3 separate regions of the Homo sapiens genome follow, and regions 1 and 2 are each linked to region 3. Evidence: promoter capture Hi-C in 16 types of primary human blood cells and fetal thymus (Javierre and others, 2016). All regions are on one chromosome and are shown on one strand. The core of a region is centred on a gene start or on the middle of the fragment in contact, and the rest is flanking DNA. Distances in the headings are between cores, read along the strand shown. Region 1 overlaps SELENOT (selenoprotein T). Region 2 overlaps EIF2A (eukaryotic translation initiation factor 2A). Region 3 holds the start of ERICH6-AS1 (ERICH6 antisense RNA 1).

Region 1 (2,878 bases), core at 284-2,783, 96 kb before region 3:
CTGCTAACAATCAAAAGAGAACTATTTTACCTTCATTTCCACTGACTTTTTCCCCTTATAGTGATCATGAGTATTTTATCAAAAATAACTATACCTCAATATATCACCTGGTAATTGTACCACTTTTGCAATTGTTAGTCAACACAATAGCAACATAGTGCTGAGAGATCAAGCTTGTAGAGTAGCTTACGACAGAGTTTCCTATTCTCGTTTTTTTTTTTCCTTTCTTTCTTCCTTTTTTTTTTTTTTTGCTGAGACAGAGTCCCGCTGTGTCACCCAGTTTGGAGTGCAATGGCATGATCACGGAGCCTTGACTTCCTGAGTTCCGATAATCCTCCCACCACAGCCTCCCAAGTAGCTGGGACTGCAGACGCGCACCACCACGCCTGGCTAATTTTCATATTTTTTGTAGAGACCTGGTCTTGCCTTGTTGCCCAGGCTGTGTGTAATACCTGCTGTATGCCAGGAATTAAGCATGCTAAAGATGTGACCATCTCAAGAAGTCTACCAGACTGGCACAGTATTACTTGTGTATCTGAGTCTGTGGTTTATTATGTTGATTGAGCAATATAATTAGATACTTTTGATTATATTGGCTTCATACTTGGAAAAAAATTTATTCTGCTTATTTGGACGTTTAACACTTAACATAGAAAAAGGAAGTTCTCTAATCAGAGCTTAAAATTCCATTGTTTTTGAGACAGTGTTGCTTTGTTGCCCAAGCTAGAGTGCAGTGGTGTGATCTCAGCTCACTGCAACCTCTGCCTCCTGGGCTCAAGAGATTCTCATGCCTCAGCCTCCTGAGTAGCTGGGACTGCAGGTGTGCACCACCACGCCTGGCTAATTTTTGTATTTTTAGTAGAGACGGGGTTTCACCATGTTGGCCAGGCTGATTTTGAACTCCTGACCTCAAAGTGACCTACCCACCTTGGCGTCCCAAAGTGCTAGGATTACAGGTTTGAGCCACTGCCCCCGGCTGAAATTCCCTTTTTGTGTTTTCCTTTTATTGATTTTTATAAATTTGTATTGATAGTTACTCTTAGGCATGATGTTTGTCATACATACTTTCTCCGTATATGCGATTTAACATGTAATCAGATCTACAGCATTTAATTAGTTGCAGTTTAAAGAGATTATTGGCTACAACCCTTTACAGTTAATATTTACTTGAACATTTGACAACTGAATTGCTGAGAATAGTAGATTAAATGAAATTGAGATTTCAAAACATAAGTAGAATATGGCGGGATTTTCAAAGTTTTGTTAGTTTGAGAATCTACTGCTGTAATTTTAGGACAGCCAACTTCTAAATGTAGTTTTAAGAGGTAAATGAAACAACTGTACCAAAACAGATTTTTATTTAAATTTACAACTATTCAGCCTTGGCTTTCATAGTGTGACAGCAAGAAAATAAAGACCTAAGGTTGATTTGGATGTTGATACTCATCAAGATTAGTAGTAAAATGCTGAATTGGAGAAATTGTGAGTTACAGAGATCATGTTGGTTACTGTAGACTTGATATTTGCATATTCAACAGATATTGGAGCACTTACTCTGTGCAGGCACTTTGCTTCCTGCGGAGAATTCAATTCAGTGCTCTCGTGGACTTCACAGGCAAGAGCAGATGCAGACATTAATCCATGGACTGACCACACAGATAAAATTCAATTGGTGTTAAGTGCTGTGAAGAAAGATTATGTGGTGGTATGAGAGATGCCTAGTCGGGATCAGGGAAGGTTTCCATGAGGAAATGAACTTTGAACTGAGATTCGAAGGATAAGATTTATTTGGCGAGAACTTTCCAGGCAATGGGAATAACATGTTCAGTGTACTTATAGTAGGAAAGACCACAGTTTTACCAGAGAAGCCTAAGCCTACTGACCTCAGAGACCTAAAAGAAGGTGCCGTTAAGAGCTTGAGGGTCTGGCAGGCCATGCTTAACAAAGACCGTTTGGTTTTCTTGTGGAAAAGACATTCCAGGAGACAAAGAATTGATGGGAAACCATTTAGGGCGGCTTTTGGAGTTGTCCAGGCAAGAGATAATGGAACTTGGAAAAGTAAGGAGGTGGTAGAAATAGAAAGAGATGTATTTGAGAGATCTTTATGTGGTAAATTTAACAGCTCTTAATGATGAATTGTATGTTTGTGGGGAAAGAGAGGTGGCATGAAGTGAGAGATGTCAAAGATGATTCCTGAGTTCTGTGGTGATGCTATACCATTCACTGGAATGATAATTAAAATAAACAAGTATTATGAATGTTTTTGGTGGGAGGGAAGGAATCCTGATTTTTGAAGACTAAGGACATAGTAGCCAGGGGAAAACCCCCACAAAGAAATTTTTATCTCCAAAATAGCCATGATAACTGAAACTAAGAAACTTAAATTAACAGTTACTTTATTACATCAAACCTAAAATACATAATGGATTGTAAGATGTACCATGATTTTATATGCCATTTAGAAGAAAAAAATACTGCCATTTAAACGGACACACTAATGATTATAAGATAAATCCTGTGGCTTTTTTTGTTTGTTATTGTTTTTTTAATTTATAGAGATGCTACATGTAGCCACGTTTAGTGGCTTACACCTGTAAATTCCAGCTACTCAGGAGGCTGAGGTGGGAGGATTGCTTGCGGCCAGGAGTTCAAGACCAGCCTGGGCAACATAGCGAGACTTTGTCTCTAATTTTAAAAAAAGGAAAAGTAGAGATGCTAAATATGGAAAAGTATGCTTATTGGTATCAATGAAATAAAGGAGTAGTAAGAAGTTGGTGTAGATAGCAGGTTAGTAGTAGTAGAGTGTTACCATTAAAAAAATAGCTGCAGCATGTAATTGAACTCCTTGCACATAATAGTTGTTTCCACTTAATAATGA
Region 2 (3,141 bases), core at 57-2,556, 120 kb before region 3:
AAAACAATTTATCCTAGCATTTTAACAGACCATTGTTGATACAAATCTAAGATAATTAATCTCCTTACTTGAGTTTCACATTCTTAATAAGGAAATTTGCATTTGAAGTGACTTTTCTTCCATGCTCTTGACTCATATTTGATGTTTGCAGAAACTGAAAGCAATCGAACAACTGAAAGAACAAGCAGCAACTGGAAAACAGCTAGAAAAAAATCAGGTACTTTCTGCATTTTTCATTTAGGCTTGTGGTGACCACCAGCCTTCCCCCTTTTATTATAAACAAGTATTTAGTCAGGTAAAAGAGCACATGGAGTTTAAAAACTTATTTTGAAAACCATATGCCATATTCTTTTTAATGTTTTTACTTTTAAATAGCTTTACTCTTAAATAGAAGAGATATGGTATTGATCATGTGAATGAAAAAGTCAATATTCCTAAGAGGCATACTATGTTATTACTGCTGAAAATAATAGCAATTTGTTATATTAGACAAATATAAGATTCTCTCAAGTTGTACTGCCCTGTTTGCCTTTTCCCTCCTCCTGTCAACATGTTTAAGCCCGAATATAGAATTGAAAATTTTTGGGGCCCAAAGGGATGCAGTAAGACAGTGTCTGTTCTTTTCACCCTCGATTCATACCAGATAACAAATTAGAATTTGTTTCTAACCTGTATTTTAAAATCTGTGTTTACTAGTGAACATAATAAATTGTCAGAAATACCATTTTTTCTGTATTATTTTGGTTACATATCCAGTAATTATTTCATAATAACTTCATTGTTTCAAACTTTTCTAGTTGGAGAAAATTCAGAAAGAAACAGCCCTTCTCCAGGAGCTGGAAGATTTGGAATTGGGTATTTAAAGATTCACGGAAAGCAAGTTGATGACCAGAAATCAGTGCAAACACATCTTCTGTTAAACCCATTGGTATACACAGAATATTCCTGTGCCCACACTTAATGTCAATCTATAATTTTAACCATTTATCCAAGATTCTACTAAGTGTAAAATTATTTAATAATGTCTATTAAATTGATATTTATATCTTGCATCCTATATCATGTCAATATGTGATATAGAAAAGAGATACGTGAATTTTTTAGCTAAGCTTGACAGATTGAAAGACAAGTGTCATTTTTTTTTGTAGAGGGTGATATATACCATGTAAATGAACAAAGACATTTTAAATTTAATCACTGTTTTTATTATAAGTTCCTTAGTTCAGATATCCTTTATTAATTTATAAGATGTGTAAAACTACTTAATTCTCACAAGACTCTATGAAGTAATTCTTTTAATCTCTATTTTATAAATGAAAAAACTAAGGCCATAAATTTAAGAAATTTGTCAGTGTCTCAAAGCTAGGAAATGGCCATCTAATCCCAGAGCCTATGCTTTAGGTCACTATGATATATACTACTCCTGTATCCTCAAGTAATGTATCATTTAGTAACACTAAGCACCCTGCTTAGTTTTCATGGATACTGCCAAATTGCCCTATCTCAAGCTTTATACTTGCACCATTTAAAGTTTTCCACACTGTTGGCAATATCAGAAGTGATAAGGCTTTGAAATGTTCGCCACTTTGATAAAGAGGAAATGATTGTTTGTTACTGTTATATACATGTATTTTTATCAGAGATGGGTTATGTACTTTTCCACGTTTGATAGTTGGTTGTATTTCTTTAGTGAATTGATTTTTCTTTTCCTTTGCCCATTTTTCTGTTTGGATGTTTGACTTTCTTCTTAATTTGTAAGAGTATCCTATGTAGTAACAAAATCCTTTTTTAAAAATTTTTAAAGAAAAAGTATACACACAGGACTTTTTTTTTTCTAATTCAAAAAATACAAAGGCATGCAATGAAAATTAAGTCTGTTCCACTACCACATTTTCCAGTTTTTTGTGTATCTTTCTAATGATAGATACCATATGAGTATTCAAATATACATACACATACACTTAAAAAAAAAAGATGGCATATACTAACTGTTCTGTTTGGGGCTTTTTGGTGGTGGTGTTTGTTTGACAGGGTCTCACTCTGCCTCCCAGGTTGGAGTGCACCTTGAACTCCTGGACTCAAGTGATCCTTCACCTCCTCCTTCCAAGTATCTGACACTACAGGCTTGCATCACTATGCCCAGCTTATACTCACCATAGTGGTTCTGTACTCCCTTAAAATATTCTGGAGGCCAGGCATGCTGGCTCACACCTGTAATCCCAGCACCTTGGGAGGCCAAGGTGGGTGGATCACCTGAGGTCAGGAGTTCAAGACCAGCCTGATCAACATGGTGAAACCCCATCTCTACTAAAAATACAAAAGTATCCAGGCGTGGTAGCACATACCTGTAATCCCAGCTACTTGGGAGGCTGAGGTAGGAAAATTGTTTGAACCCGGCAGACAGAGGTTGCAGTGAGCCGACATCGTGCCATTGCACTCCAAGCCTGGGCAACAAGAGTGAAACCGTCTCACACACACACAAAAAAAAATATTTTGGAGCTCCTTCTATATGAGTCTCTCTCTCTTATCTCTCTCAGGATGTGTGTATGTGTTTGTTTCTCTGGAAAACCCTGACTAATACAGATTAGCTATGTATTAGGTAATACATAATGCCTAATACATAACTAATATATGGACAGGAAGTTAATAGACTGACTGTGCCACCTTAAAACTCGTATGTTGAAGCCCTAACCTCCAACGTGGTGGTATTGGGAGATGGGCCTTTTGGAAGGTAAGTGTGTTTGAATGAGGTGAAGAGGTTGGGGACTTCGTGATGGGATTATTGTCCTTACAAGAAAAGACACCAGAGAGCTTGTTCTGTCTCTTTGGGCCATGTGAAGACATGGTGAGAAAGCAGCCAGCTGTAAGCCAGAGAGTCCTCACCAGAACCTAACCATGCTGGTGATATCCTCATCTCAGACTTCTAACCTCCAGAACTGTGAGAAAATAAACTTCTTTGTTTAAACCACCTAGTCTGGTATTTTGTTACGGCAGCCTGAGCAGACCAATATAGATTGTATAAATTTCAGTTTGTTTAAAAGGACAGGCCGGGTGTGGTGGCTCACGCCTATAATCCCAGCACTTTGGGAGGCAGAGGCGGGCGGATCACAAGGTCAGGAGATCGAGACCATCCTGGCTAAC
Region 3 (3,188 bases), core at 462-2,961:
TTACAATTGCACACATGGCATATATAGTTATTCTTTCATGTTACATTGATAAGTGGACATGTAATCTCTAGAGCTAGGTAATAAGCTGGGGATAAGTGGGAACCTTTATCTCTTTCAAAGTGTCTACCAGTGTATATTTAAAAAAAACTTTTTAAAATAAGTAAGTCACAAATGCCCTGGATTATTTTACTCTACTTCCTAACATGTTTATCCAAAAGGTAAACATTATTGGGTTCAAAAAATGTGAAATTTGAAAACATTTTCTTACCTATCTATACTCATTTCAGACATGTCTTTCCTAAATGTCTGAAATATTTTAGGGAAACCTGTTGAATGAAACATTTAAAAATCAGCTATTCCCTCTAAATCAAAAGGTCAATTCTACCCCCCCCAGGAACACATGGCAATGTCTGGAGACTTTTTTTTTTTTTTTTTTTTTTTTGAGACGGAGTCTCGCTCTGTCGCCTAGGCTGGAGTGCAATGGCGCGATCTTGGCTCACTGCAAGCTCCACCTCCCGGGTTCACGCTATTCTCCTGCCTCAGCCTCCCAAGTAGCTGGGACTACAGGCGCACGCCGCCACGCCCGGCTAATTTTTTGTATTTTTAGTAGAGACGGGGTTTCACCATGTTAGCCAGAATGGTCTCGATCTCCCGACCTCGTGATCTGCCCGCCTAGGCCTCCCAAAGTGCTGGGATCACAGGCGTGAGCCACCGCGCCCGGCCTGGAGACATTTTTGATCATCGCAAGGATGTGTGCTTCTAGCACAGCCACGGGTAGAGGACAGGGATGCTGCCAAATATCCTGTAATTCACAGGACAGTCCCCAATCCTCCCCAACAAAGAATTATCCAGACCAAAATGTCAACACTAGAGCTTGAGAAGCCTACTCTAGAAGACTTCTCTGCTTCTTTTTTCAAGGAAGTGACTGGAGTGGCTTCAGCACAGGATGTTAAACACAAAAGAGAGTTGTTTTTTTTTTTTGCAGGACTGTTTCAGTAGTACAGCACCCTTAAGGCACTTCTCTGGAAATAATATGAGTGTGTGTGTGTGTGTGTGTGTGTGTCTGTGAGAGAGAGAGAGAGGGAGAGAGAAAGAGAGGGGGAGGGGAGAGGGAGGGGAGGAAGAGGGAGGGGAGGGGGAACAGAGAGAGAGAGAGAGAGAGATGTCACGGTGTGAATGCACGCAAAAATGTTATAAAAATGAGCACTCCCAGCAGCCTGGGCAACATAGTGAGACGCCAGATTAGCTGGGTGTGGTGGCGTGTGCCTGTAGTTCCAGTTACTCGAGAGGCTGCGGTGGGAGGCTTGAGCCCAGGAGGTCGAGGCTGCAGCCACTGCACTCCAGCCTGGGCGACAGAGCGAGACTCTTGTCTAAAAAAAAAAAAGCACTTCATACAGCCATGCCCAAGTTCAACTTTTATGGTGTTTCGCCTATATCCTAAATCGTGCCTCATCACAACAGCTCAGCCAAGGGTTCAGTGTCTCTGACAAGGGCGTGAGAGAGATTAGGTGTGTGGAATGGTGCATGCATTTAGAAATCAGGCACGACGCGCAGGTCGACGAAGGCACCACCCAGGAGTGGGTGGACCAGGTGCCCCCTGGAGACGAGAAACCCTCGAGGAAGGGGTGGGTCGGGGGCGGTACTTTTATGCGAGGAGGTGCTGGAGGGTGGGCTTGCGCTCGGCGTTTCAGTGCTGGTCGCGCTCTGGCTGGGCACGAACGTAGAGGTCAGGCTAGGGCTGACGATGCTGGCTAAGCGGGGGCGCACGTCTGGGAAGTCGTCGTCGTAGTCACCGATGTCCGTGACCTTCCAGAGGTACTCTTCGCTGAACGTCTCAGGGGCCTCCAACTCCTGCTCTTCCCCCACCAACTCCTCCTCCACCACCTCCTCCTCCTCCTCCTCCACCTCTTCCTCCTCCTCCTCCACCTCTTCCTCCTCCTCCTCCACCTCTTCCTCCTCCTCCTCCTCCTCTAACTCCTCCTCTGACTCCTTCTGGTCCTTCTTCCCCGGGTCTCCGAAGCCGCTAGGCGAGCGCAAGTGGGCCATGGCTGGCGGGAGGCGGGATTACAGCCAGCTCTTTGGCCGCGGCCCCGGTCGGCTCTCGCGAGCGCGAGCCTCTGTTGTGCGTTGGTCTCCCCGGGCAACTGCTTGCCCTGCGCCACCGAGCCTCCCGGATTTAAAGCGGCAGGAGCTGGTTAGCCGGATAGAATGTGGGTGCCGAGGGCCGGTGGGGGCCACCGCAGACTTCTTTCTGTCCCTGCTCTTCAGCGTCTCTGAAACCCCTGGCAGCCTGCGGAGAAACGATCTTTTCTTCGTCTCTCAGCTTATTTGGGGCCTTTTTTTTTTTTTTTAACTTGGGTGGAGGAAGTGGCTTCTAGCGACGGACACACACGGTGCCATTTGGTATTGCGGATGCTGGAGTCTGGTTATTGAGTAGACAGATGCTTGCTGGAACGTCCAGTGAAACTTTATTTACAAAATCAGGCGCCAGCCCTTGGGCCCTCGTTTGCGGATATTTTTAAAATAGCTTTAAATATTAATAAGCGTATTAAAATTGCCTTAAATGTTAGTTATCTTAAATATTGTTAGATTAATATTAATTAATCTTGATTGGCGACATTTTTAGCGTCCCATAAATTTTGCTCCTTGCTGTGATCTGGGTCCTGCTTCTTACTTGGCCCATCTATCCATCCTGGAGTAGAAAAGTCCTGAAGCATCTGGCCACCTAGGTACCACCTGCGTCCTTCTGGGACTTTGTATTTACTTACATTTTTGTAAAATATATACATTTTTTATTTTTGAGAGACAGGATGTCACTCTGTCACCCAGGCTGGAGTGCAGTGGCGGCATCATGGTTCACTTCAGCCCTGAACTCTTGGGCTCCAGTGATCCTCCCACCTCGGTCTCCCAAGTGGCAAGGACAACAAATGTGTGTCACCACGCCTGGCCAATTTTATATATTATATTATATTATATTATATTATATTATATTATATTATATTATATTATATTTATTTTGAGACGGAGTCTCGCTCTGTCACCCAGGCTGGAGTGCAGTGGCACCATATCGGCTCCCTGCAACCTCAGCCTCCTGGGTTCAAGCAATTCTCCTGCCTCAGCCTCCCGAGTAGCTGGGACTACAGGCACGTGCCACCACGCCTGGCTAATTTTTTGCATTTTCAGTAGAG

What was found. Contacts are between HindIII fragments. The CHiCAGO score rates a contact against its expected background, and 5 or more counts as called.
Region 1: a contact is called between a fragment that was not itself captured here and the fragment with the promoter of ERICH6-AS1 in region 3, in 2 of 17 cell types (megakaryocytes and total B cells). The highest score is 5.6, in megakaryocytes.
Region 2: a fragment that was not itself captured here is called in contact with the fragment with the promoter of ERICH6-AS1 in region 3 in 1 of 17 cell types (megakaryocytes); the score reaches 5.1 in megakaryocytes.

What each region holds. Positions count from the first base shown.
Region 1 is chr3:150,605,916-150,608,793 of GRCh38, forward strand. The region is part of intron 1 of SELENOT (selenoprotein T); the gene reads left to right. Among named protein-coding and RNA genes, the nearest start is that of SELENOT, 4.0 kb to the left of the region's middle. The HindIII fragment of the contact is 2,725 bases long and covers 172-2,878 here.
Region 2 is chr3:150,583,049-150,586,189 of GRCh38, forward strand. EIF2A (eukaryotic translation initiation factor 2A) reads left to right here. Exons shown (of 14, transcript NM_032025.5): 13 at 152-217; 14 at 798-2,968. The coding sequence ends at 863. The region is part of intron 1 of LOC124900547 (a long non-coding RNA gene); the gene reads right to left. Among named protein-coding and RNA genes, the nearest start is that of SELENOT, 19 kb to the right of the region's middle. The HindIII fragment of the contact is 399 bases long and covers 1,108-1,506 here.
Region 3 is chr3:150,701,853-150,705,040 of GRCh38, forward strand. ERICH6-AS1 (ERICH6 antisense RNA 1) reads left to right here and starts at 1,712. Exons shown (of 3, transcript NR_121675.1): 1 at 1,712-1,815. It overlaps ERICH6 (glutamate rich 6), which reads right to left and starts at 2,068. Exons shown (of 14, transcript NM_152394.5): 1 at 1,644-2,068; 2 at 269-326. The coding sequence starts at 2,046. RefSeq lists enhancers at 1,944-2,023, 2,174-2,263. The HindIII fragment of the contact is 4,487 bases long and covers 1-3,188 here.